5 separate regions of the Homo sapiens genome follow, and all the other regions are linked to region 1. The links are contacts of gene promoters, found by promoter capture Hi-C in blood cells and fetal thymus (Javierre and others, 2016). All regions are on one chromosome and are shown on one strand. The core of a region is centred on a gene start or on the middle of the fragment in contact, and the rest is flanking DNA. Distances in the headings are between cores, read along the strand shown.

What was found. The method cuts DNA at HindIII sites, captures the fragments that hold promoters and counts their contacts. A CHiCAGO score of 5 or more calls a contact.
Region 2: a fragment that was not itself captured here is called in contact with the fragment with the promoter of MAGOHB in region 1 in 4 of 17 cell types (naive CD4 T cells, non-activated CD4 T cells, total CD4 T cells and 1 more); the score reaches 8.9 in naive CD4 T cells.
Region 3: a contact is called between a fragment that was not itself captured here and the fragment with the promoter of MAGOHB in region 1, in 1 of 17 cell types (total B cells). The highest score is 6.6, in total B cells.
Region 4: a contact is called between a fragment that was not itself captured here and the fragment with the promoter of MAGOHB in region 1, in 1 of 17 cell types (fetal thymus). The highest score is 12.3, in fetal thymus.
Region 5: a fragment that was not itself captured here is called in contact with the fragment with the promoter of MAGOHB in region 1 in 7 of 17 cell types (naive CD4 T cells, M0 macrophages, erythroblasts and 4 more); the score reaches 7.5 in naive CD4 T cells.

Annotation. Positions count from the first base shown.
Region 1 is chr12:10,611,210-10,616,730 of GRCh38, reverse strand. MAGOHB (mago homolog B, exon junction complex subunit) reads left to right here and starts at 3,122. Exons shown (of 5, transcript NM_018048.5): 1 at 3,122-3,292. The coding sequence starts at 3,199. RefSeq lists enhancers at 2,308-3,185, 3,002-3,401, 3,186-4,065. The HindIII fragment of the contact is 2,009 bases long and covers 2,788-4,796 here.
Region 2 is chr12:11,541,721-11,547,241 of GRCh38, reverse strand. All of the region lies in intron 2 of LOC124902877 (a long non-coding RNA gene), which reads left to right. It also overlaps the pseudogene RNU7-60P. Among named protein-coding and RNA genes, the nearest start is that of LINC01252, 3.5 kb to the left of the region's middle. RefSeq lists an enhancer at 2,677-2,736. The HindIII fragment of the contact is 1,479 bases long and covers 2,405-3,883 here.
Region 3 is chr12:11,493,981-11,499,501 of GRCh38, reverse strand. No RefSeq gene overlaps it. Among named protein-coding and RNA genes, the nearest start is that of LINC01252, 51 kb to the left of the region's middle. The HindIII fragment of the contact is 956 bases long and covers 2,965-3,920 here.
Region 4 is chr12:9,749,246-9,754,766 of GRCh38, reverse strand. It overlaps CD69 (CD69 molecule), which reads left to right. Exons shown (of 5, transcript NM_001781.2): 4 at 77-180; 5 at 1,178-2,281. The coding sequence ends at 1,286. Among named protein-coding and RNA genes, the nearest start is that of CD69, 8.9 kb to the left of the region's middle. RefSeq lists a silencer at 3,220-3,299 and an enhancer at 3,760-4,054. The HindIII fragment of the contact is 472 bases long and covers 2,950-3,421 here.
Region 5 is chr12:11,171,366-11,176,886 of GRCh38, reverse strand. SMIM10L1 (small integral membrane protein 10 like 1) reads right to left here. Exons shown (of 1, transcript NM_001271592.2): 1 at 871-5,521. The coding sequence ends at 5,324. It overlaps PRH1-TAS2R14 (PRH1-TAS2R14 readthrough), which reads left to right and starts at 5,276. Exons shown (of 5, transcript NM_001316893.2): 1 at 5,276-5,465. PRH1-PRR4 (PRH1-PRR4 readthrough) reads left to right here and starts at 5,262. Exons shown (of 10, transcript NR_037918.2): 1 at 5,262-5,465. It also overlaps a transcript of PRH1 not described here. The HindIII fragment of the contact is 3,407 bases long and covers 135-3,541 here.

The DNA of each region.
Region 1 (5,521 bases), core at 1,873-4,372:
CATGGAACATGTTTCTGAAAATTGGAAGTCAGAATGATTTGATCATTAAGCCCTAATTTCAGATGGAAATAAAACGTTTATTTCTTACCTACTTCACTTTGTGCTTTGAAATTTACCGCTGTGTTAGCAAAGGTGGAAACAGTATTTTGGCTTCACTTAAGCAGCTCAAATATTTATTTTCATAAGTAAACTGTGTTGATATCAGTAAGTACGTCCTAATTTGGAGCCTACAACAAGCAATTTGAAAATGTTCACAATTTTTTTTTTGCTATTTCTAGCCCAACTAAAAGTGTATGAAAAGATTCTAACTGTGCTGACCAACACAGTAGCTTCTAGCCACATGTGTTTATTTAAATGTTAATCTAAATTAATCACAATTAAGAATTCAGTTCGAAGTCACAGTAGTCACATTTCAAGGGCTCAGCAGCCATACAGAAGAACATTTCCACATCACTGTTGTGTACCATCCAAGAATACAACACAACGCAAATGCTTTATCACTTTGTAATTCTTGCTTCAATACAAAAGGTTCAAATTTTGGCTTAAAATATAGAGAGTTAAGTAAATATAGTTTCATATTTTATCTTACAAACAGGTAGGATTATAGTCTTGAACCCCTATGTCATTTTTGGAGATCAAGACAGTAACTGGCCCACTTAACAAAGATGTTAATACTTTGTGCATTCTGTAACCTCTATTTATATAGTTACACATTCTGGTATCCATAGTTCTATTTAGGTAAACATGAAGATGAACATTGGCACATGTGCCAAAAACCTGAAGGAGAGACATTAGGGAATCTAAGATATTGAATGAGGCTTTCCATATAATTCAACAAAATGGATTACAGCTGATATTTCCAGAGATACTACGGAATAGAGTGTTCAAATTTCTGTGAATTATTCTTGTGGTAAGTGTGGTGACCAACCCATCTCAGTTTGCCTGGGTGTTTCCAGGTATGGAAAGTCCCATTTCCCAGGAAACTCCACAGTCCTGGTCAAACTGGAACGGCTAGTCACCCTAGTGGTAAAACATGGTGCTTCCTGTTTCTTACGTACTTTCCAAAATGGTGGCCCATTGTAGGGACTGATTCATTTTTCTATATTAATAGTTATATAACTACTAATATGGACTCAAGGAAACGTGGCCCAATTTGCCTTTTTAGTCATTCTACTTGAACCTTATGCTCTAGCTATACCGAATTTCTTAGTGTTCCCCAAACATGAATTTTCACACCACTGTCTTTGCTCGGGTCATTTTCTGCCTGGAATGCTTTTTCATCCCACTGAACATACACAGAACTTACTTCTCAAGGTCCAATTCAAACACTTCCGTTGACAAGCCTTTTCCAATACTCTTTTTTCAAATTTCCCTACTCTGCAATAGAATGCTCTTGCTTCCTCTGCTGTACTACCGGCATGTTTTACACACTTTTTTTTTTTTAGACGAAGTTTCGCTCTTGTCACCCAGGCTGGAGTGCAACTGCGCGATCTCCGCCTCTCGGGTTCAAGCGATTCTCCTGCCTCAGCCTCCTGAGTAGCTAGGATTACAGGCACGTGCCACCAAACCTGGCTAATTTTTGTATTTTTAGTAAAGACAAGGTTTTGCCATGTTGGCCAGGCTGGTCTTGAACTCCTGACCTCGGGTGATTTGCCCCCTTTGGCCTCCCAAAGTGCTGGGATTACAGGCATGAGCCACTGCGCCCGGCCACATATAGGCTTTCTTTTCTTTTTCTTTTTTTTTTTTTTTTTTTTTTGAGACAGAGTTTCGCTCTTGTTGCCCAGGCTGGAATGCAGTGGCACGATCTCAGCTCACTGAAACCTCTGCCTCCAGGGTTCAAGCAATTCTCCTGCCTCAGCCTCCCGCGTATCTGGTATTACAGGCACGCGCCACCACGCCCAGCTAATTTTTTTGTATTTTTAATAGAGACGGGGTTTCACCATGCTGGCCAGGATGGCACATATATTCTTAATTATAGCAATTGCTCCCTTGTGCTGGTATTCGCCTTACGTGTTTGCTTTCTTTTCTAGACTACCAGATCAAATGGCTTATTTCTAGTTTCAAACTGTCACATAGGAAATGTTTGTTAAAACTAATGTTTTATAAAATTTAAAGCTTATTTTACATATTATCTCATTAGATCTCTCAAGAATTCTGTGAGCTTGGCAATGTAGATTGCTGTATATGCATTAGGCTGATGAACAAACAGGCTTAGAGATAGTCACTTGCCCGAGGTTAGTTAGCTGTTAAGTGTTGGGATTGAATCCCAGGTCTTCTCTCCACCACTTTCTACTAAAAATCACTGAAGGTTGTCAACCGACAGATAGGATTACTCTGTGTGTTGATAACAAAAGGGTGATCAATAATATCTGAAAAGGAAACTTTGTGTAAAAGTCTTTCCCTTACCTTAAAAACTACGCCACACTGGAGCATTCTTTCATTCCCCCAATTTAATTCTATCTGGCGAGAAACAATAATGGGCTAAACCATTATTGTATCGTAAGTCAAATTGCCAAAACTTCACAGGCTACTAAAAGTTAACCCTTATTGAATGAATTAAGAACCTTAGAAGTTCTGCTGTTAAAAAAAGCACGGTGACTGTCAGGGTTTTTCAGGTGTGGGGGGTGTGAGGGTTTTAAGAGTTGGATTCCTTTGACTTTGTCTCTATTATTATAGGCTTAGAGGTCCCGGGTAACTACCAATCGCTATCCAAAGGGAAAGCACCCTGTTAGAAATTAAGTAAGAAAAATAGTTTATATTCCCGGTCTGCCATTTCGATTCTAAGCTTTATCTTTATTTAGCTCACAGTTAAAGGGGGCATAGAGCCACACCCACCTCACAAACGCCGCAAGGATTGGGAGACCAGAAAAGTAAAAGTGACTTGCAAACCTTTAGCTCTAAGTCCATAAAAAAGACTATCATATGCTCACATTTCTAATCTTTGCTAGTATAATGTAATCTTTATTTTGAAAACAATGTGCCTCCATTCCTAGTAAAGCGAAAGTCACGGCGCTGCGACCCTCCCTTCAGCGCCTCCGGACTCTCACGCGATACTCGGCTTTCACGCTTTAGTCTAGGGCTGCACTGCAGGAGGAAGAGAAGCGCCTGTGGTGACGCACTTATTCCGCGCGATGACGTCACTGCAAGGCGCCGGGGGACACGTTGGCTGCGTTTTCGGCGGGCTTCCCGGGTACAAAAATGGCTGTGGCTAGCGATTTCTACCTGCGCTACTACGTAGGGCACAAGGGCAAGTTTGGGCACGAGTTTCTGGAGTTCGAATTTCGGCCGGACGGTGAGAAGAGGCCCACGGCACGCGGTGCTGGGAAAGGGGAGCGAGACCGAGAGGCCGGGTGGTGTGGAGGGTACAGGCGGCGGAGGCCACTGCTTCCCTCGAAGGAAATAGGAGCTTAAGAATAGAGGAGGCATAAGTTGGTTTTATAAATGAAAGAGAATTAATTGCAATAAATTAAAGCTAATCCTGTCACAAACTGAAAAGTTGAACCTACAGTAATCAGAATTCTGTAACAGTGCACCAGAAGGGACTCTAGATCGTCGCCCTGATTGAAAATGCTAGCACTTTTTTGAAAACACCCCCACCAGCGGGTGGTCCAGTGGATGAATAAAATCTTGTGGTGACCAGTACCTTTTTTTCATTTAGGCTGTGTGTTTTCTTTGAAGGGGAGGAGCCCAACGTGTTAACAAATGAGAATAATAATATGTTTTAGGTGTTTACGTGTAATTGTTCACCATAGGACGCATGAAGAGTACCAAGCAAGAGGGGAGAGGTAAAGTTCCACAGGAGGGAGTCAGGAAGATCTTCTTAGAGGACGGCACTCTTGAGATGAGTCTCGAAATGAGAGACTTGGCCTTTGAGAGAAAAAAACAGACTTCCAGAGCAGTATGAGCAGAGGATGAGGTGAAACTGCTACCCAAGTAGTGTGCAACAGTGTGTTTTCTGACAGCGCTATCCTTAGAGAATGTTACATTGATCTTGCCTACCTGCAACAAGAAAGTTCATTTGGATATATATTTTTTGGGTTTTTTTGAATGCACGTTTTGTGCTGGACAACAAGCAAATACAAAATTTTAAGGTACAGTAATGAGTAAGACAAATTTAACTAAAGCAGATTTGTCTTGGTGGGAGGCACAGACATTTAACTATAAAGCAGTATGCATATTAAGTCCTATAAGCAGGCTTTGGACAATGTTCTGTGAGAGCAAGAATAAAAAATTAGAGAAGGAACGTATATTAGGAAAGGAGAAGAGTATCAAGCATTTCAGGCAGAACTCACGTTAACTACAGTCCTGCAATTATTATTATTATTATTATTTTGAAACAAGGTCTCACTCTGTCACCCAGATCTGAGTGCAGTGGCACGATCTCAGCTCACTGCAACCTCCCCCTCCCTAGTGCAAGTGATCCCTCACCTCAGCCTGCCGAGGTGCTGGGAATACAGGCCCACGCCACCTCACCCAGCTAATTATGTTATGTTATGTTATGTTATGTTATGTTATGTTATGTTATGTTATGTTATGTTATTTTTTGTAGAGATGGGTTTCCCCATGTTGCCCAGGCTGGCTTCAAACCCCTGAGGTCAAGGGATCCACCAGCGTCAGCCACCCACAGTCCTGGGATTACAAGCATGAGCCACCGGGCCAGCCCTGCAATTATTTAGAAACCTTAATCACTGTATTTAACCTTACCGTCCCCATAAATTCAGCTAAATTTACCTGAATTCATCTATTCTTTATGTAGTATTATTTTCAGTTCCTCTGCCTGCGAACACCATCAAGCTTGTCCCTATCACTTTTAGCAGGTCACATGAATTAAGTACCTGAATATTATCAGGGAAGTTTTATGCTAGAACAGTGGTTCTAATCAATGTATCTGCCACTACACTGTTACACATACTTCCATTGGTGATATTGAGCCTCCCGAAGACGCGTTTCTTTTCTTTTTTTTTTTTTTTTTTTTTTTTTTTTGAGACAGAGTCTTGCTCTGTCGTCCAGGCTGCAGTGCAGTGGTGCGATCTCGGCTCACTGCAACCTCCGCCTCGTGGATTGAAGCGATTCTCCTGCCTCATCCTCCCGAGTAGCTGGGATTGCAGGCATGGGCCACCATGCCTGGCTATTTTTTCGTATTTTTAGTAGAGACGGGGTTTCTCCATGTTGGCCAGGCTGGTCTCTAACTGCTGACCTCAGGTGATCCACCCATCTCAGCCTCCCAAATTGCTGGGATTACAGGCATGAGCCACTGTGCCTGGTGCCAAGCCATCAAAGACTGTCATTTCTATCATTTTAGAGTACCTGTTGCACATTATAGCTGTGTCTGGGCAACTGACTAGCCATAAGGGGAAGCATACATCAGATAATACAGCAATCATGATGGATTAAAATTAAATATAAACTAGCTAACAAACTCATCAACTTTGATCCAGAAGCATCGTTTGTATGCTTCCTAGTCATAATTCTAAAATGTCTGCATTATAATTGCATGCATACATTTGAAGGAAAAAAATTT
Region 2 (5,521 bases), core at 1,895-4,394, 930 kb before region 1:
CAGCAAGGGGCTCCCACAGTGCAGCGGTGGGCTAAAGGGCTCCTCAAGTGCCGCCAAAGTGGGAGCCCAGGCAGAGGAGGCGCCGAGAGCGAGCAGGGCTGTGAGGACTGCCAGCACGCTGTCACCTCTCACTGGCAGGGTTAGGTTTTTCTGGGGGCTGTGAGAGAGAAACCAGTCTGTGCGTCTCTTTGGCATTCCTGGGCATCCCTCCAGGCTCCGCCTGTGCTGTCACACTGAGTTCCCCCTGTGTGTCTGCTTTCTCCTCTTATAAGTGATATAGGAGTTAAGAAGAAATTATTTAGGCAGATAGTGAGGGTAAGGAAGTCCTCAGTAAGGTTTTCCTTTTAATGAAAAGCAGCCCTCAAATCGTTTTCTTTTCTTACAATGAGCAGCCTGTAAAATCAAGCTGCAGACATAGACAAGCAAGCTAGAAGCTTGCACGGGTGAATGCCAGCAGCTGTGCCAATAGGAAAAGGCCACCTGGGACTAGGCATGTCCAACTTCGTATACTTGGTCATCATTTCCTACATTCTCACACAGAAGAGAGCACTCAAAAAATAGTTTTGAGAATCATTTGCTAATGATTTAATACTATTATAAGGGAATAAAAGACTTTTCTTTTAAATGAGTGCTTAAAGGCGATTGGAAGCCCTGCTAAAGTTCAGGGGTGAATGCCTTATTATTTTTTTATATTTGGGGGCAAGGGCTTTCCAGTGAAGACTGGAAAACCTGCTAGACAGATTCTAAAAGAGCTGTAACACTGGGTGAATGCTGTAGAAGCACATAGTGTTAGTAAGGTGTGGGTCAGATACGGCTTTAGAGAATGTAGCAACTGAAAGCCCAGATGGGAAGCTCCGTAGGCAGCTGGATAAGCTAATATTTCTAAATAATATGTTCAGAGATTCGGACTGAATGCAATTGCAACCTTCTCCACCAGTCAGCAGTGAGTTCTGAAGTTACAGAAGTGTGATGAATTGCGGTCAATATGGGTTCTACCTTCACTTTGGAGTCAGTCAGTGACCTTAAAATACCTGCCCAGCTGAATTTTCTTAGAGTGCTTCATTTCCTGTGGGCCCTTTTACTCCAAATTCCAGATGATGGCTTTTAGTCTGTGGGGCCGCTTTAAGAGGCAGAAATCTGATCAGAACTACTAGAAGGCTGTGAAGGTGCTGCTGTGTGGACAGGCAGGGCAGAGTGCTCAAGGCTTTCCAATGCTCCTGCAATGGATCCTCCCTACCCAGCCCACAACCTGGCAGCTCAGGGGCCAACTGTTCTCTGTTGCTTTCTACTATCATGAACACAGGAAATGGGGGTGGGTAGCTTCTGGTTTCTGATTGAGGGAGTAGAAAGTGATGCTGCAGGGATCAAAAGCAGAGAAGCTTTTAAGCCATTTGAGAAACTGTGTCCGAAGGCAAGCGGATTTTAGCAGTAGCAGCAGCAGACCCCAGAAAAATTTGAAGAAGCATTAGTTTGTGCACTGTTAATGCCACTCTCTCATGAATGAAGAGAAGAAGGCAGGCCTAATGAAGGCTTTCCTAATGAAGGCTGAAGGCAGGCCGCTATTTGCCAAAGGTGCTGAGTGGCAGGGGGAGGAAGGGAAGGAAGCTGTGCAGTGTGTACTGCTTGCTTATCAGGAATCACGTCATTTCCTGTGTAAAGGGGCTGTGTGGTCTCCAGGGGCACTGGGAAGCCTTGGATGGCATGATTTCACCTTCTTCTTGCTCATCATTGAGGAGCTCTCATTAGTTAATGCTAGCCCTATTCATTTCATCATACATCTATTGTGTTCATACTGTGTTCTGAGCTCCGTGTTTAATCTTCGCAGGCTCATGAAGAGGAGTTAAGGATACTTTTGTCTTGAAAATGCTAACAGTCCCTCATGTGCTTGGGACCAGGGCTGCTGGAAAACCCACTAAGCAGCACACGGGAAACTAGAAAAGCAGAGGAACAAAGTTTTGGGGTTTTTGGGAGAGGGGGTGAAGAATGACATATTTTATTCCAAAAGCATAAAATATTTAATAGTGGAAACTATGAATGATACTGTTTAATTTTTAGGAGGCCAAAATATTTTAAGATTTATAAGTTTTAAGCTGGCCTTGGAGTGAGGGCAGAAAATATGTACACAAACAACTCTAATACAAGACTGAATGTGATGTATACCATAACAGAGCACCAAAGTAATAATGAATTGGGAGACAGAAGAACCACAATGTCTTTATAAAGTGGTATTTGAAGTGGACTTTGATGAACAGATAGGCAGGGTTGGAGTGCATGATCACTAAATCCATTCAAACCTTCTAACATTGACTTTTTATGGTGTGGGGGTGGGTGGGATGGGCACGGATTCTCCATGCAAAGGGACTATCTCGGGAACAGACAGTCACGGGGGCGGGGGGACTAAGCTTTCCAGTGTGCCTGGAGAAAAAGGCACATGTGAGGTCATGGATCTCAGGGCCCAGGCTAGTCTAGTTTGGCTGTAGCAGGAAGTGTTCCTCACTCTGCTCAGACCCAGGTACTGCTTCAAACCAGAAAGTCTGGAGAGTGGGCTCCTTCCTCCCCTAATGGGGCAATTTGCCCAAGGACAAAGTCCAGGCTTGCTCCTCCGTATCAGACCCTGCTCTGGGTAGAGGGAAACCACCACATGCTTTCTTGTTTGATGTGCTGAGTGCTCAACTGAGCTGTCTGTGCCCCTACACTGCTTCTGTATACTTAGAGTCAACCTTTAGAGGATGATATTTCAACATTCTGCATGGAGTTTTCTCTGTAAAGTACAATGAGTTTGTGACTGACCAGAACTACAGACATTCCCTTTTGTTTGTGAGCTGCATGACCAATGTGTTTGGCCTCATTAAAAATGAACTGGGCAAGCTGGGCATGGTAGCAACTCAGGAGGCTGAGGTGGGAGTCTCACTGAGCTCAGGAGTTCGAGTCCAGCCTGGGCAACATAGCGAGACCCTGTCTCTAAAAAATATAATAATATAAAATTTTGAAATAAGAATGAACTGGTCAAATAGGAAAGTTTTCAAGGACATCAACTGGTCTTTTCTTGCACAGAGGAGATTCGCAGGATGAAAATACTCTGAGGCTTCTTCCCACTGCAGGGCACAGACCCGAGTTAAGTGTGGCCTGGCCCTCAGCACTTCCCAGGTGCCCTTGGTGCATCCTGGTGCTGACCTGTGCCCCTCCACACTCCTGCTGTGCAGCTCCTGCTACCCTACAGGAACCTGCTCCTGAATAATCCCTGTGTCTCCTCTCTGTGCTCTTATGAGTCACCGAAACTCGCTTGTGAATTTTATTCACAGGGTTTTGACGGCTTCTTTCTATCCAAATTTATTTCCTCCTTGACCTCATTCCTTCTGTCTTGTTGCCATCACCAGTGAAAGCTAATATTATTTACATAGGGAAATGCATAGTGGATGGAAGGATACAGTTCTAGGAGTCACATGACCAGCCAAAAAAAGTTCTGCGTAGACACACACACACACACACACACACACACGTATAAACATATCATAACAAACTTAGCAGCTTGAAGATGAAGATTAATAGTGTTACTGTTTAAGGATCTCAAAGATAAAACATTTGCAAATTTAAAGCACACTTACACATGTATTCCTCTTGAGGACTTGGAAACACAGTTTTGCAGAATAACTCTGGCTGCCAGCTAGCACGGGAAGAGAAGTGTTAAGTGTTGAAAACTGTTAACTGTTCATGGACCAGTATAAATTGAGTCATAGGGGTGAGGTGTTTTTATGTTTGCTATATTTCCTATTTCCACTACTTTCCTGAATAAGTACATTTACTCTGGGTTAATTTTTGAAATAATTTTGAAATTATTCAAAACATTGTTGTGTGTATATGCAAAGACTAGGGAAAAGAAGCTTGGATTGGTAGCAAAAAGCCAACTGTGACTTTGAGCAAATTATTTGACCTCTCTCAATATATCTTTTCTTATTTTAAAATAAGGAGGTTGAACTATATCATTTCTATGCTTTCTTTCATTGTTAGCAATCCACGAATAATGGAACACTGCACAGAATAGTAAACACTGGGTTAAGATCCAGTATTGGCTCGAATCCTTATAACTGTGTGATCTGAATACAGTAATTTCTTCTCCCTGGGCCTTACTTTCTTCATCTGAAAAATTACAGGATTGGCCTCTATCTTCCTTATTGTCTCTTCAGACTCTCATGTTTTGTAGTTTTCCTCAGTTATGGTAGAAATCTCATCCTTCTCTTCTTAACATTTAGTCCTGTGCTCCAGGGAAAGAGGAGGGAGTTGGGAGAGGCCTGATATAATCATTAATTTTCTCCGTCTTTCTCTTTGTTTTGTTTTAACTCTCTTTCTCCTTCCCCCTCCCCACCTTCTCCTCCATTTTTTTTTTTCTAGAACACTGAGAAAGTTTCCTCATAGTCTACTTGGCAGTTGCAGCTGTCCCTAGAATGAGTCCTGAAACCTAGATCTGAGTTGCGGTAGAAAGCCTATTACTTCCTTGCTTGTTTGAAGACAGCCTACTGTAAGCCCTATGGCTTGGAGGTGACCAGGCTCTCCAGGAGATCAACACTTCGAGCCCTGTATGTTTAAGGAATAGTTTTGACTTAGAGTGATAGAGAACACCTAAAGAGACCATGGCTTTTAAAAATAGAAGTTTCTGAGTGTGGTGGTTAATGCCTGTAATCTGGGTACTTTAGGAAGCTGAGACAGGCAGATTGCTCGAGCCCAGGAGTTCAAGACCAGCCTCAACAACATAGTGAGACCCCATCTCTACAAAAAATACACAAATTAGCTGGGCATGGTAGTGCACACCTGCAATCCCAGCTACTCAGGAGGCTAAGGTGGGAGGATCACATGATCCTGGGAGGTTGAGGCCACAGTGAGCTGAGATTGTGCCACTACACTCCAACCTCAGTGAGAGAGTGAGAGCTTATCTGAAAGAAAGAAAGAAAGAAAGAAAGAAAGAAAGAAAGAAAGAAAGAAAGAAAGAAAGAAAGAAAAGAAGGAAGGGAGGGAGGGAGAGAGGGAGGGAAGGGGCTAAAAACAGTTAAGTATTATAAAGCGAGCATCAGTCCAGAAATCCAGCAATAGTCCCTCCTGGAATCCACTGACTTTTCTCAACAGTTTTTGGCCCTTCTCTTTTAGGGTTGCCAGATAAAAATACAGGATGCCCAGTTAATGTGACTTGCAGAAAATAATAATAATTTATTATTATATAATACATAATTTTTTAGCATAAACATGTCCTTTGCCATGCTTAGTTTGGGACATACTTACACTAAAAAATTATTTGTTCTTTATCTGAAATTCAGAATTAGGCATTTTATATTTTAAATTCAGAACTAGGCATTTTATATTTTTATTTGCTAAATCTGGCTACCCTATTCTCTTCTTAATATTCTTCATCTCTCCCAGCTTTGCCCTCCTTCCCTGCCCCCTCTTCTAGGGGAGTCAGATCGAGTTGTAAGGAGAACATGCCCACTGTCTCGATGGCTGCAGCGTGCAATCCATACAGACGGTGAGGAAG
Region 3 (5,521 bases), core at 2,193-4,692, 880 kb before region 1:
CCCGAATCAGCTGCCAAATGGTGCCCAGGTTGGAAAAGCAAATGTGCACACATGGGTTCTTCCCACTCTAACCCTGAGGAATTCGAGGCCTGCTTCTTACACAGACTGGGCAGTGGCTAGTGACTCTAGGTATAGCAGTGTCCAGGCCCTGCTCACCCAGACTAGAGCTTAGGGAGCCAGAAGGAAGGAGGTGCATGACAGGTGGGAAAAATAATCCTCAAATTGCAAGGTGAGAGCACAATCTATTTATACTGGGTTGAATTAACTCCTCCCCCAATGCCACTAAAGCAGGAATCACACTGCACATGGCACTGATTTGATTGGCAAGAGACATGCCACGCAGAATATTAAGAGACCAGGCCCCTATAATTAGGCCTAATCACAGCCTGTTGCTTGAACATGGCCAGAAAGACATTCATCAGGCCTGGCATTGTGCCCTAGGCCAGCTCTACTGGGCACTGTAGTGAGGCCCTCCATTGCAACAGAGGTGTGGGTGGGCCTGGGTGAGTGTGGCAGGAAATGCCTAGGAGGCTTCATTTGGTCTTAAAGGGCCATGTGCCTTCTCTGAATCTCTGATCCTTTCCATTTCCCATTCTTCAGGCTGAGAACTGCACTCTGATACACGGTTATTCCCAATAATAATAATGTGTGTATCATACACAATGCACTGCACCTCTTCACCATGCTGGTACCTACTCCTCTGCTCCCCCTGCCGGCTTCCTCAGCCCCTACTTCTACCCTGATGGTTCTGTCCTCGCCTCCTCAGGCCAGCACTTCCCATGATCTGAGATGTCTGTCTTCCTTCCTCTTCAACTTTTTCTCCAGCAGTGAGTTCCTCCTCCTAACTCAGGCTTCCAGGAAGGATATCCTTGGCTTCTCAGACCTGAACCTGCCTCAAATACTCATGAGGACCCAGGAACTACTCCTCACCTCCCACTTCTCTTCCCTCCTGTCAGATAACCAAGGCACGGCCAACTGATCCTCCACCATCCGAGGAACCCAACCATCTGAGACCACCACACCCCTTTCAAGAATGTTCCTCCCCTCCCTTTGTTTGTATTTATACCAGTGCAAATTTGCTGGCCATCTTAACTTAGTCTTCTGCCTCAGTTCTCCCATCTGTAAGATCAGGAGGCGGATAAAGATGTAAGATACTTTCTTTGCATATCTTAAGATGAATTCCGTGTTAGTTACCACATCTGAGGGAGTCCGTGTGTGTTTACTGTACTATCCATGTGAGGGGATTGTACAGACACAAATCGAAACAAGGAAGTAGCAAGTCCATTCAAGCATTAAGAGACTGATTAGTGGTTTATTCATTCTGTCTGCAAACATCTACTGATCCTGTCTTCAGTGCAGACCATGATCACTACAGAAATGAATGAGACCCTGCACTGGCCAGGAAAATAGCCTCAAAAACAATGGAACTCTAATCCAGCCATGAGTAAAATAAGGAGGGACAAATCCCTTCTAGGGTTAGGGAAGTCAGGAAAAGTCTCTTAGCAGAATGTGTGCCTCTCTACCAGGCCCAGGGAGCTGGTACAAAGACAGCATTCCAGGTGGGGAGCAGTGGCTTACACCTATAATCCCAGAACTTTGGAAGGCTGAGGTGGGAGGATTTCTTGGCCCCAGGAGTTCAAGAACATCCTGGTCAACATAGGAACTGGAGTCACGCAGTCACATACTTCACGCTGGGGCCCACCATGTGAGGCACAGAGTGGGCTTCCAGGAAGGAGACTAAGCCTCATTTCGGGTTGCTTATGGCCAAAGACAGGACCTGTGTACTCTGTCCTCTGTCCCTCACTGCCTTCCCCCTGGGCTCAGGGCCAGGCTGACAGCCAGTCTTGGCTCCTCTGGGCAGCCCTTGCTCTGTGTGTGCCCCGGGGCAGAGGCCATAGTCCAGGCCCAGAGGCCATAGCTGCCCTCCAGCCCTACACCCTGACCCACTTTCCTGCGTCTCTCAGTACACCCGACCTTGTCTTTACCTGTGCGGGAAGCTCCTCTATGGTCCACTTAGTTCCCACCCACCTTTAAAAAATAAATAGAGGCCAGGCACAGTGACTCACGCCTGTAATCCCAGCACTTTGGGAGGTCGAGGTGGGCGGATCACAAGGTCGAGAGATCAAGACCATCCTGGCTAATATGGTGAAACCCTGTCTCTACTAAAAATACAAAAAATTAGCTGGGCGTGGTAGCATGCACATGTATTCCCAGCTACTCGGGAGGCTGAGGCAGAATTGCTTGAAAGCTGGGAGGTGGAGGTTGCAGAGAGCCGAGATTGCACCACTGCACTCCAGCCTGGGTGACAGAGCAACGCTCCATCTTAAAAAAAAAAAGAAAAAAAAATTAAATAGAGAAGTCAGTCATGATGACGTGGGAGGATCACCAGAGGCCAGGAGTTCATGACCAGCCTGGGCAAAATAATGAGACCCCTGTCTCTTAAAAGGTTTTATTAAAAAAAATTAAATAGAGAAGCTAGACATGAAAGGACAGATATTGTGTGAGTCCACTTATGTGAGGTGCCTAGAACAGTCCAGTTCATAGCAGCAGAAGCAGTGGCCGCCAGGGATGGGGAAACAAGGTGGGAGTTGGGCAGCTTGTGTTTCATGGGTAGAGTTTCAGGTTGGGATGATGGCAAAGTCCTGGAAATGGCTGGTGGTGACGGCTGCACAGCAGTGTAAATGTGCGAATGCCACTGAGCTGTATGCTTAAAAATGGTTTTGATGGTAAATTTTAGGTTAGGTCTATTTTACCACAATAAAAAGCTAGGAAAAGCTGGTAGAAAGAAAGAAAAGAAAGGAAAAGAAGACAAAGAAGAAAAGAAAGAAAGAGAGAGGGAAAGAAAGAAAGAGAGAGGGAAAGAAAGAAGGAAAAGAAAGAAAGAAAGAAAAAGAAAAGAGAGAAAGGATGAAAAAATATTAATTTCTTTCTCAGGCAATAGTCCAGATTTTGTATTATGAAGCTTGTGTATCAGCTCTGCCCTATGAAGTCCTTGGGATACCAGGCTCCTTCCTCCTTTCTGCCCCACCATTCCTTGGATGTAGCCCTTGACCTTTTAATCGAGGTTGGAGGATGAGGAGAGAAAAGGAAGCAATGGCCTAGAAACTGCCATTGAGCACATGCCTACATCCCATTGGCCAGATGTCAGTCACATGACCACACCCACCTGCAAGAGATGCTGGGAATTGAAGTCTCATTTGTGGGTAGTCATGTATTTAGGCAAAATTTGAGGACTCCATCACCTTGGAAGAAGGAGAGAATAGATAGTGGGGACAACTTAGCCATCTCTGCTGTCATCCCCATTTGATCTCTCAATGGTCAGAAACCACAGAGGAGAAGGAGTGACTCCCAGAACATCCAACATTCAGCCTCCCCTTATTACTCTTCATTCTTTTTCATCCTTAAAGAATCCTTCTGGCCACTCCCACTAGGCATTGTCATCTCCCAAGAATTACAAACTATCCATGGATTCCTTCATCTTACAAACCTACCTGCTTCGTGGTAGGCACTGTATTAGGTAAGGGGACTAGAAAGATAGAGGAGGTGCAGTCTTTTCCCTAAGGAGTCTTCAGTCTAGCAGGCAGGAGTAGAAATGTGGACCAACTGTCCTGAAGTGTGACAGTTGTATAGATAGACATTTGAACAACATATGGTGGGGTATTAAAAAAAAACAGTTAACACTAAACTCAAAAACAGATAAGGGAGGGATAAGAAAATGCATCATAAAGGAAGTCTGCCGTAAACTAAGTGTTTAAAGTTTGGTTCATTGGATGGAGGGGACAGGACAGAGTCTCTGTCTTTCTCCCTCCTTTTTTGCTCCTTCCCCCATGCCTAATATGCTTTGTATAAAACCACCTGTATGCAAAACAGATCAATCCAGCTACTATCCTATTAAAAATATAGTGCATTGGCTATAAGCTTAAGTTACTAACTTGCATATTCATTTACATGGCAATTCCTGTAACCTTGCCTCTTAAGAAAACTAGACGAAATAAAATTAATTACCAAAGGCAGCCAGCAGCAAAAATATCCAAACCTTAATTCTAGGTACAAGCTACAGAACATGGCACAAAGTGGACTGTGGTGGGGGTCTGTAGATAAGGTGAAGCAATAGTTTTACATCAAAAAATTATTGGGTTCTATACAAGTGCAATCATAAATGAGGCATTGGAATTTGGCTTCACATTGACTAAACTGTTGAGCCATGGTTCACTCATTAACATTCTGTGTTAATGATATTCTAGTTATCATTAAAAAAGTAAAGGTGAAACTGAGAAACTATAAGCAATAAAACTTGGTGTTTAGGAGAAAATAATTTATCATCCATAATATATAATTTTGAAAGATTAAAAACACATTCATCTCAATACAAAAATTCAATAATGCTTGAATTACTTCCAACGTGTTCATCCAAGGTGAACCTTCACATTTTTACAAACTCTTTTTCTTTATGAATTTTTGTTGACTAAGAACAAATTTTTTTCATTTTCTGAACTTCAAAATTATGCATTTTTCTATATGCTATACACATGAAACTTATGCTTCCTATGTATTAATTTTACAATTTTAAATTCCTTGGAAGATATCTTGTTTTTAAGTATTAAATTCAACTTTATTAGCATGTGTTCATTATCTAATAAAACAAAATGAACCATAGAAAGCAGGGATCCCCAGACTTTTTAAATAAAGAGTCAGGGAGCAGACATTTTAGACTTTGCTGACCACATACAGTCTATGTCACATATTTATCTTTGTTTTTTTTCTTTTAACAACCTTAAAAATGTAAAGACAATTCTTAGCTATGGGCCAAACAGGTCTTAATTTGACCCGTGGGCCTTACTTTGCAAACCTCTGAAAAGCCTTGATATCAGAAACCTATATGCCTATAAATAACTATAATACAAGGGAGATATATTAATGCTATGTACGAAATAATGAAATTGGTGGATATGTAGAATATGGTTCTTTTCCAGTGTTCCTTTGCTCAGCAACGGTATCATTATCCATAAAGCTATGAAGCTGGAAACCGTTGAGTCATCCTCAACATGACTCTCTCCCTTTCTCTCATGCATTATATTGAATCTATCATCAAGTTCCATCCATTTTACTTCCTAAACGTTTCTCAACTTGATTCACTTCTACCTCACTGCCACAGTCCTATAAAACTATCATTACCCTTTACTTGGAATGCAAGATTCCTAGATTCCTAACTGGTGTCTCTAATCTACCCTCATCTATTTTTCTTCTCTACCAAAAGTCTAGTTTTTCTTCTGATTTCTTTTATTTTTTCTCACTTTCTCTCCTTTCCCATCCCTTCCTGAACAATTCAATCCTAAACCATCTTTGGTATGGGAGGTGGTACAGAGCTAACATAGCCTGGTATGGGTGTCAGAACCTGCACTGGGTGAAGACAGTGTTAATGTGAGGAAGGAGTGTGTCCTGATGCGGAGTGTCAGAGCCCAAGCCAGTTAAGGAAGGCATCTTATGGGAGAGTGGCTTGCAATGGGAATCAGAGTCAGAG
Region 4 (5,521 bases), core at 1,936-4,435, 860 kb after region 1:
TTTGAGAAACAGGATTTACTATCTACTTCCCCAGAAGGGTGTTTAATGTAACAAACTCCTTTGTGCTTTCTTTAAGAACTTTCTAAAACGATACGCAGGTAGAGAGGAACACTGGGTTGGACTGAAAAAGGAACCTGGTCACCCATGGAAGTGGTCAAATGGCAAAGAATTTAACAACTGGTAAGTCTCCAGAAGTCTCTTTATATTCCCCAGGGTGGCATCTCAGGAAAATCACTTTCCTTTTCTCCTTTCAAAGCACTTTAAATATAAAGGCTGAGCTCTTCAAGAGCTCTAACAATCTCTTCTGAATGCGTATACTCTGGAATTCTTTAATAACAGGCTTTATTATTATTCTTTTTCTTTATCCACACTTATAATACATAAAATAAATGCTTATAGTAATTTTTCTCAGCAAACTCTAATGTGAGTAGTAGATCTGGTTAATTTGGAAATATTTCAATAATAATTATGATGATGCAACAAAAACCCATTTTCAATGTCACATTTAGTCTTTACTAATAAGACAGTTGCTGGAAAATAAATCCTTCTTACTATTTCTCAGTTTTCATCTCCACAGAATAAAGAATAGTTTCAATGCCTAATTATGAGTTTCTATACACCTGAAAGAAAATTTGCCCCAGAATTAGATACTCTATTTTCATTACCTTTAGTTAAAATACATTTAATGTTTGAAGATCATTTTATAAGTTTGCTGTTGATCATAATACTGATAAAGTATCGAGATTAAAATTCAGGTTTCTAGAAAAGGGATTCCTAATATTTGTCCTATGGCTCCATATCCACAGATGGGCTTCAGGAGCCATAAACCCCTTAAAGCTGTATGCACTAGTATGCATGGCTGTTGAATGCATACAATTTTGTGAAATTATTTATTGAAAAATCTATGAACTCAGAAATGACCAAGAATCACTTATCTGGTGCCATGCCAACCAAATGAATGGCGTGCTTTCCTCTTACTTCCATATTTTTTCTCCACATCCTATTTTTTTTTCAATTCTTGTCCATTGTCTCTACAGATTAGTCTATGATTATTTGACTTGTGTATCCCACTAAGAATTTAAAAGAAGCAGAGGTCACCATCTCCGAGTTCATTCTCATGTAACTGAATGAAAACAATGAGCTGAAAATAATTCTAAGTTTTTTTATTGTTTGACAGGTTCAACGTTACAGGGTCTGACAAGTGTGTTTTTCTGAAAAACACAGAGGTCAGCAGCATGGAATGTGAGAAGAATTTATACTGGATATGTAACAAACCTTACAAATAATAAGGAAACATGTTCACTTATTGACTATTATAGAATGGAACTCAAGGAAATCTGTGTCAGTGGATGCTGCTCTGTGGTCCGAAGTCTTCCATAGAGACTTTGTGAAAAAAAATTTTATAGTGTCTTGGGAATTTTCTTCCAAACAGAACTATGGAAAAAAAGGAAGAAATTCCAGGAAAATCTGCACTGTGGGCTTTTATTGCCATGAGCTAGAAGCATCACAGGTTGACCAATAACCATGCCCAAGAATGAGAAGAATGACTATGCAACCTTTGGATGCACTTTATATTATTTTGAATCCAGAAATAATGAAATAACTAGGCGTGGACTTACTATTTATTGCTGAATGACTACCAACAGTGAGAGCCCTTCATGCATTTGCACTATTGGAAGGAGTTAGATGTTGGTACTAGATACTGAATGTAAACAAAGGAATTATGGCTGGTAACATAGGTTTTTAGTCTAATTGAATCCCTTAAACTCAGGGAGCATTTATAAATGGACAAATGCTTATGAAACTAAGATTTGTAATATTTCTCTCTTTTTAGAGAAATTTGCCAATTTACTTTGTTATTTTTCCCCAAAAAGAATGGGATGATCATGTATTTATTTTTTTACTTCCTCAGCTGTAGACAGGTCCTTTTCGATGGTACATATTTCTTTGCCTTTATAATCTTTTATACAGTGTCTTACAGAGAAAAGACATAAGCAAAGACTATGAGGAATATTTGCAAGACATAGAATAGTGTTGGAAAATGTGCAATATGTGATGTGGCAAATCTCTATTAGGAAATATTCTGTAATCTTCAGACCTAGAATAATACTAGTCTTATAATAGGTTTGTGACTTTCCTAAATCAATTCTATTACGTGCAATACTTCAATACTTCATTTAAAATATTTTTATGTGCAATAAAATGTATTTGTTTGTATTTTGTGTTCAGTACAATTATAAGCTGTTTTTATATATGTGAAATAAAAGTAGAATAAACACAATGGTTTCCAAGAAAGTTCATTCCTTCAAAATACATTAAAAAGTATATACTATATGAGAAAGCAGAAAACAGTTACTATAACTTAGGAAAAAATCCCATGTAGAGTAAAACCCTTAGTTTTATAATAGCTTATACATATCAAATTGTTTTCATATGCTTATATGCTAAAGGGTGTATGTATCCATATCCATTTTTCTGTATATAGCAGATGCTCTGTAATAATTACTCCTCATAGTCAATGCTCTGAAAGTATCTTGTTCAATTCTGAGGTGCTACATACACTTTAGTTATTTATGTAAAATAATTCAATATATAGAAAAGAGGCATAATCTTCATGGGATATTTCAATCAGCAAAAAACTCAATGATGTAGTTTGGATGTGTGTCCCTGCCCAAATCTCATGTCGCATTGTAATCCCCTTTGTTGGAGGTGGGGCCTGGTGGGAGGTGATTACATCATGGGAGCGAATCTCTCATGAATGGTTTAGCATCATCCTCTTGATGGTCTCCTTGCACCTGAGTGAGTTCTCAGGAGATCTGGTCTTTTCAAAGTGTGCAGCACTTTCTCTCTCTCTCTCTCTCTTTCTCTCTCTCTTTCCTGCTTTCTCCATGTGACATGCCTGCTCCCACTCCACTTCACCTTCCAACATACATAAAAGCTCCCTAAGCTTCCGCGGAAGCTGAGCAGTGTCAGCATTATGCTTGTAAAAACTGCAGAACCGTAAGCCAATTAAGCCTTTTTTCTTTATAAATTACCCAGTCTCAGATATTTTTATAGCAATGCAAGAATAGCCTAATACATTTGATTACCTTCAAAATTGTTTTATAAATGTAATTTGCAATATTCTTCTCTGCTTGTTGGAAATGTATGATGTGTATGGTATCTCTAAACTATTGGCAAACGGCAAACAGAAATGTGGATTTCAGACACTGCTTAGTGAAAAATAATGACCTCTGTGCTCCTGAGTTCCCACAGCTGTGGGAAAAAAGAAACAAGCAGCCTCCTAGCGGTAATATTCTATCATTACCAACAATCTACTCCCGAGTCATCTTAGAAAACAATGTCTTGCGATTAATATTTTAGTTATAACATATTTTTATGTGCATAAATCTAATCAAATTATGAAAATTGAGAGCAAGCTTAAAAATATTTCTATATTAGTATGACACAATTTTTAAGTCATTGAATACTGACTGTATCACCTAACAATTCAATGAATTTTATCATTTTTACAAATAATTTTATTGAATCCCTATAATTATGTGAAATGAGCAGCTGATGTATTTCCCTTTCCAGAGGAAGAAGTTGAAATTATGTTGAAAAAGCGACGCAAAACACGGATAACAGAGTTATTTTTTACACATAATTTGAAGTCATTTTATTCATAAGGACAACTGTTTTCTTTAAATAGATAAAAAATATACAATTCTTAAAGGGAATAATGTTATTATTTAAAGTATGACTCTACTTGCAAGTGACCAATGACAAATATAAAAAATGGGTTTGTCTCAAGAACCCCTCCTGCCCCCGGCTAAGTCCCCTGTTACAAAAGTTGCAGTGCCATCTAGTGGTTATACGAGATTACTGCACTTCTGTTTTAAGGATCCTACAAAACATCTATGTGGAGCGTGGAGCTGCTGAGACCCAAAGCACGGGGGCCAGACCGCCCGAGTTTCATCTCTGCCACGCGCGGGCTGACTAGCTATTTTATCAGAACTCGTTCAAAATTCAGCTAAAATTAGTTAGATGTTAAATTAGTTAGTACATGAAAACAAACTTAAAACATTATCTGGCTCCCTAGTACACCATAGGCATGTATTAAATACTCATGATGATTATTAGAACTAGAAACACTATGTCTTCAAACTTCCAGTATTGGCATAAAGCCGCGTTTCTACACGACATGTCTATTTCTACGTAATATATCTTATTTGTATTTGTTTTTGGAAAGCCTTTTAAAAATTTCATTTCACAAGTTATAAGTAAGCACCTACTACTATGGTGGACACCAGAGTTAAAATACTCAGCAAATTCCGCATGGCAACTGGCCTTGTGGAATTCGTGGTCTATTTGTAAAACAAACAACAAGATGAATTGACATGGTGTGATGAATGTTATAATAGGAAAAACGTAGGGTGCTATGGAAGCATATTAAAGATATACTCCTGTATTCAAACCTTTAGCTAATTATCAAAATTTTAACTCTGTAGGCTACATTCATCTTGGATAGTTACATAAATATGTGTAAAATAAAACTATCAGTTATCCGTGTTTTGCGTTGCTTTTTCAACATAATTTCAATTTCTTCCTCTGGAAAGGGGAATACATCAGCTGCACATTTCACATAATTGTAGGGATTGGATAAAACTTTTTAAAAAGGCTAAAATGCCATTGAACTGTTAGGTGCTATAGTCAGTATTCAACTACTTAAAAATTGTATGATACTAATATAGAAATGATATTTTTAAGCTTGCTGTCAATTTTCATAATTTGATTAGATTTTGCACATGAAAATGTATTATAACTGAAATTAAAATGTAAATGATTTTTCAGGGAAAAATATTGGGAAATATATGACCAGAACGACTGCTGGTGATGGTGTAAACTGGTTTCCTTTACCCTTTGGAAAGCAGCTTGACAATACTTACTGGGGAGGGAGGGAGATTTTAAAGAAATAATCTTGGATGTGCAAGACATAACCACAAAAATGTTTATCAAAGGGATATTTCTAGTAGTGAAAAATCAGAAGCTACCTAATTGTCCAAAACCAAAGATTTAGTTAAATAAATATAATGCTCCTACATGATGAAATGCTATCCCAACATTAAAAAATAATGAAGAACATTTATGTATATGAAAGAATACTCAAACTATTATTGCTGCTAGTTTAAAATAATATATACAATAGGATTATTTCCTGTTCAATATTAAATATACAAAACATGTTTTATATTTCTATATGCTGACAGAAAGTAAAACTACTAAAGTAAACACAGTGGTTTTCCCTGAGGAGGAGGAATATAGGAAGTATTTATTTTCTTTATGTTTTTCTATAATTTTGGATCTCTTTCTTTCTTTCCTTTCTTTTTCTTTTCTCTTTTTTCTTTCTTTCTTTCTTCTTTTTTTCCTTTTTTTTTTTTTTCCGAGTCTCACTCTGTCGCCCAGGCTGGAATGCTGTGGCTCGATCTCCGCTCACTGCAGCTTCTGCCTCCCGGGTTCAAGCAATTCTCCTGCCTCAGCG
Region 5 (5,521 bases), core at 589-3,088, 560 kb before region 1:
AGACAAAGGCATTATCCTGACTTGTATATTGCCACCTCTATTCCTTAGCCCCATGTTTAATAAATGAATCAGTTCTGGAAATAAGTTAGCTTCCCTTTTATATAGATATAACCTGGCCCCTGAACTTTGAAGCTTCTATTATTTTCCTTTTAGACTTCAGTTTGAGATACTTTCACAGTTTTCAAAAACCAATTAAAAAGTGAAAATGATCTCTTGAACAACAGTTCTTTTTTTAAGCATCTCGTATTTTTGGCTTTTTGTTTTTTTGAGACAGGGTCTTGCTCTGCAGCCCTGGCTGGAGTGCAGTGGCATGATCACAGCTGTTTTCTTTTTTTTTTTAATCTGCTGAACATAATCTCTAATTCTCTGCCAATGATCTTAGTTACAGTATTTCATTATTTGGTGGTGTGATTTTTTTCTCCCTCTTTTTGGCTGATGAAAAGTTGTACCCAACTTCCCTCACTAATAATATGAATGATCTCCATTTCTCTTTATTGTTCATTGATGCATGCCACTATTTTACAGTGGCTAAGTCCATATGCTTGGTGTTGAAAGCCATGGAGATGGTGAAGATTTTGTAATGTTCATTGCAGATCCCTAATCAGGATAGAAACTGGCAGGGATGTCCTGCAATTAAGCTACTAAGACTTCCATAGTTTCTTCATTTGTAGTAGGCTTTTGGGAAGGTCCTTGGGCCTTTTAGTTGTCCCAAGAGCACTGCTGAAATTTGTATTTGTGGAGAGTAGGGGTAAGGGGAGGTTTACTTATATTTTGAAAAGATCTCATGACTTGACCTGGTGGTAATCCTGCTGAGCAAATCCTATTAAGTCTAGTTTGTTCAGGCTGCTATAAAAAATACCATAAAATGGGTGCTTATGAACAACAGAAATTTATTTCTTATAGTTCTAGAAGCTGGGAAGTCCAAGATCCAGGCATTCACAAATTTGGTATCTGGTGAGGGTTCATTTCCTTGTTCATAGATGACTTTTCCCTATAACCTTACATGGCAAAAGGGGTAAGGGAATTATTTTGGGGTCTCCTTTATAAAGGCACTAATCCCATTCACGAGGGTTTCATCTTTATGACCTGATCACCTCCCAAAGGTCCCATCTCCTGAGATCATCACTTTGGGGGTTAAATGCCAACATGTGAATTTTTGGGGGGCACATTCAGACCATAGTACAAGTGTTAAAACTGCAAGAAGAATCCCCACACTCAAGGTAACCCAAGTAATAGACTAATATGAATCAATCCAACCCAATTGTTGGGAATTCTCATAGTTCTTGCAGAGGTTCTTTTCTTGGTTCATTTTCTTGGAACTTCCCAAGTCGTCTTTAGACTACTTTCCATGCTCAAACTTCCAAGTATTAGGATATTCCTTTCCCTCATCTTTTGTCCCTATATTCCTCAACTTTCATCCTACCCCTTTATGCTTCTGCATGTAACTTTATTTTCTTCTTGACGCTATCAAAAGCTATTGATGTCCTGCCAGAAAGATCTCCCATTAAAAGCAAACTGCAAGATTTTCTAACAAAATTTAGTTAGGGATCCTCAGGACAGGAACAGACATGGCTTCAAAATTTAACATTGTCTGATCTCTACTCTGGGTAGCACAGGAAAGTGTTTCCCTTCCATTCTGAGGACAACGTTCTTTCCTCTCTCTCCCTTTGCTCCCATATCCCTCAATCCCACCAACCCTCTAATAAAATAAGCCAATAGGTTTAAGGCTGCAGAGAGTATAAAATACTTGAACTTACATATCAAATCATGTTAAATATTTATATTTTAGTATGAAAGACCCTCAATAGTTATGTTAAAAAAAATAACTATTACCCAGGTAATATTTCTGTCCAGAAATTTGAGAAACAGAATTATTTGTAATTATCTACACATTTAAGAAAATTGAACTCCTTATGAAATATAACTTTAGGAATTACTGGAGATTCATTTGAGGTCTGGTTGGTTATCATGACCTTAGGAATTTACTTAACCTCTCTAAATCCCGGTTTGCTTCTCTGAAAAATGATAAAAATGTTTTCCTCACAGGGTATATGTGAGAATTACGGAGCTCATGTATATAAATAGTTTTTCATAGTTCCTGGTATTAAAAACTCAATATATTTTAAAAATGATGCTGATGGTAATGATATGCTATTTGTCAAGTAATCACATGTATTTTTACCCAGAATTAAAAAAAAAAAAACAACTTTTCCCCTATCCCTTAGGTTACATATGTTGCTATGTTCACTGTTTTCCTTTTATAGTTAAAATAAGCTGTAACGCATCGTTTCCCATTTTTTTTTTTGCCAGCTACATTTCTTATCTCTATTGATAATAACTATACCACCTATGTCTCTGCTTTTTCATGCTTGAGGGATCTCTGGATCAATCAACGTGCATGATGGCCTGAAAAAGCCCAATTTATGGGCAATAAAGTGAATCATCTTATTATCAGGAACGAATATATGTTTCCTTTATTGACTGCTGACTATGTAGAGCATACCAACAAAATTGCCATTCATCTATCCATTCAACAATATTTATTAGCTATTCCGCACTGGGCAGTGCTCTAGGCTTGGGGATAGAACAGTGAACAAACAAAATCCTTAGCCTAATGGATATTACCTGGAAGTGTGCCAGGAAGAATAAACTCACTTGTGAATTACAACAATAAGTGGTTTATTCAGGTCAAAATCTTGTTTTGTCTCCTGGGAATTTCACTGAATTGCATCATGTAGGAGGCAAACTATACCCCAAGAATTAAGAGCAATTGTGAATAAATGATAAACCACAGAGTTTACATTTACCTCCTAATACATTTAACTCCTAATATATATATATACATATATTACGAGGTAAATGTAAGCTGTAACTTTATGCATATATTGTAAGTAGTAACTATACATATATACTTATATACTGTATACATATATAGTAAGTAGTAACTATACATATATACATATATAGTTACTACTTAAATTTATATATGTGTATGTATATATATATGTATATATACAGTACACACACATACTGTTACTACCGGGTGTAAAATTGAATAGGATATAGTGTCTTCCCTCACAGAGCTGCCAATTATGTTGGAGGATGTAATAAATACAAAGTCTGTTTCTTCATCTTCGGTTTAACAAATGACTGATGTGAGGAAAAAAGTTATAGGAATATGTTCACATAGTCACCCAAATGGAGCATCCTACTCTGTCACCATTTCAGGATTAAGACTAGACAGTCTTTTGTGTTACAAATTGGGACATCAGTGCTCTGGGAAACAGTGATGTCCACGATTCTAAATCCCTTGGTATTACTATTTCATTGATTAAACTACACTTCTGATATTTTAGACTAAAATGTTTTGGCTTATCGCAGTCTAGGAAACCTGTCTTGGGTATATAAAACAGACAGTTGATGCACGATTAGGGAAAAATAAGGCAACCTATGAAAATGGCCTTATGGATTAAAAGAAGTGAGCTCCTATATGGTCAGTGGAATCCAGGAAAAATTTAATGGAAAAAGCGCCACCTAAGCTTAGCTTTAAAACACAGAGTATCTTCAGGTAGAAAAGGCTATAGGAGAATGTGCCCAAATGGAGTTTGGCTGGAGACAAAGAATAAAGACTAGAAAGAACAATTACCCTAGGCCAGACATGGTGTTGGACGGGGCAAGATGCTTACTACTTAAAGCCATAGAACACTGTTTGCTGGACACAATGAGTGGAATATAGAACAATGCAACTATTTTAACACTTTACCCCTCTTAGTGGTTTATTAGTTAATTTTTTCCTGAAAAAAAAAATGCGTATACTACTTTTTCTGCACTTTTCTATATCAGATCTTGATTTAAAACTTTACCACTCTTGGTGATTTATTATTAGTTTTTTTAATCCGAAGAAAACATGTGTATACTCCTTTTTCTGCATTTTTCTATATCAGATCTTGATTGGCTCACCACCATTACACACACACACATCTCTTTTCTCCCATCCTCCCAGCGTTATAGAATCATTTGTTGTAAAATCAGTATTCAGTATTTACATAATTATGACTGACTTTACATGACTACTATTATTCACAGTTGAGGTATACCGTGTATACAGTGTAGTTTTTAAATTTTTATTTTTCTCAGCGTTCAAAATTATATGTTCTGTTTTCTTAATTTTGAAAAATATGCATTCACTAATTTATCCCCACACTCTTTGGAAAATGAAAGCTCTCTAGGCTGTATTCAAATACACCAGGTACTCTATCAATTTTCATTTTTTAAACTATTCTACCTGAGCTCTCCATCTTTAGCCATTTCCTGTTGACTTCATACTGTTCTCCCCTACCACTCTCCCTCTTTAATATATTACCGTTTTAGAAACTTTATGGCTACCCTGTAAGTAATAAAAATGTCTTTCCCCACTCAACAACAGACAGTACCTTTCAAGTTTCCACTTTATAAGGACATAACCCCCATTCCATTTACTTCCCCCGCCCTCCTTCAACATTCCCACTTGTATTTTCCGGCTGTATTTTTAAAACATGGTAAATAACATTTGCACTCCACTTTGTAACCATAATTAAGTATGCCCTTAAACAATAAAAACCATAAACAACATTTGTATTTTACGATTATTTAAATGTTATTCACTGAACAGCCAAGCTTTGTGCTACTATGGGATTTCGTTTTCTGCGGTTCCAAGTCTTGATCCACGTCCTGCCACAGGATCACTGAAGTAGAGCCCATTTTCTTACACTCTCGCCATTAGTTCAAAAGCTTGCAGCATTTTATGTCTGGTACTTGGAGGATGATTTTCCTGTACAGTTTTGCGTTTTTTTCACCGAAAATTTCTGATTATTATTGTTTTCTCTTGTGGGATGAAATATGTACCTTCTATATCACAGCCTTAATACCTTCAGCTTCTTATTCATTGAAATCTTGCTTACAATCCAGTCCGAGGATTCCCGGTTTACTGATTTTCTTTTTCCTGCAAATTTTAGCCTTCTGTTTTGTTTTGAAATAATGCATCCTCTGCGCTTTGTCACATTCTGAAATTCGTCAGGTGTTTTAGGATGCACACTTTCTTAGATGTTTTCGAGGGTCTTAACTGCAGTTCTGTTTCCGGAACAGCGTATTCTCTTTCTAGGGATTGTAGGCTCCCGGCCGCCCCCTGAGGAGCTCCGCTAGCAGCTAAGAGGGCAGCCACGAAGAGCGCCTGAGCACTCTCGCGAGACTGTGGGGCTCGCCATTGGCTGCTCCGCCGCGCCGCAACGGACCCTGGGAGTCGGCCATCATGCTGGCCCCGGAGGCCGTTAGCTTAGTCATGGCTCTAAATATGTACCTGCAATCGGATGTTGAGGATCACCGAGCCCGCGACGTAGAAGTACGGGAAGTTCATGCGCAGCTGCCAGGCCAGCTCGAAGAAGGCGAGCAGGGTGCGGGAGAGCCCCTTGCAGAAGACGCCGTACGAGGTGGGTGTCGCGGCGGGGCTTGAGGCCCTGACGGCCAAGGAGGACGGAGCCGCCGC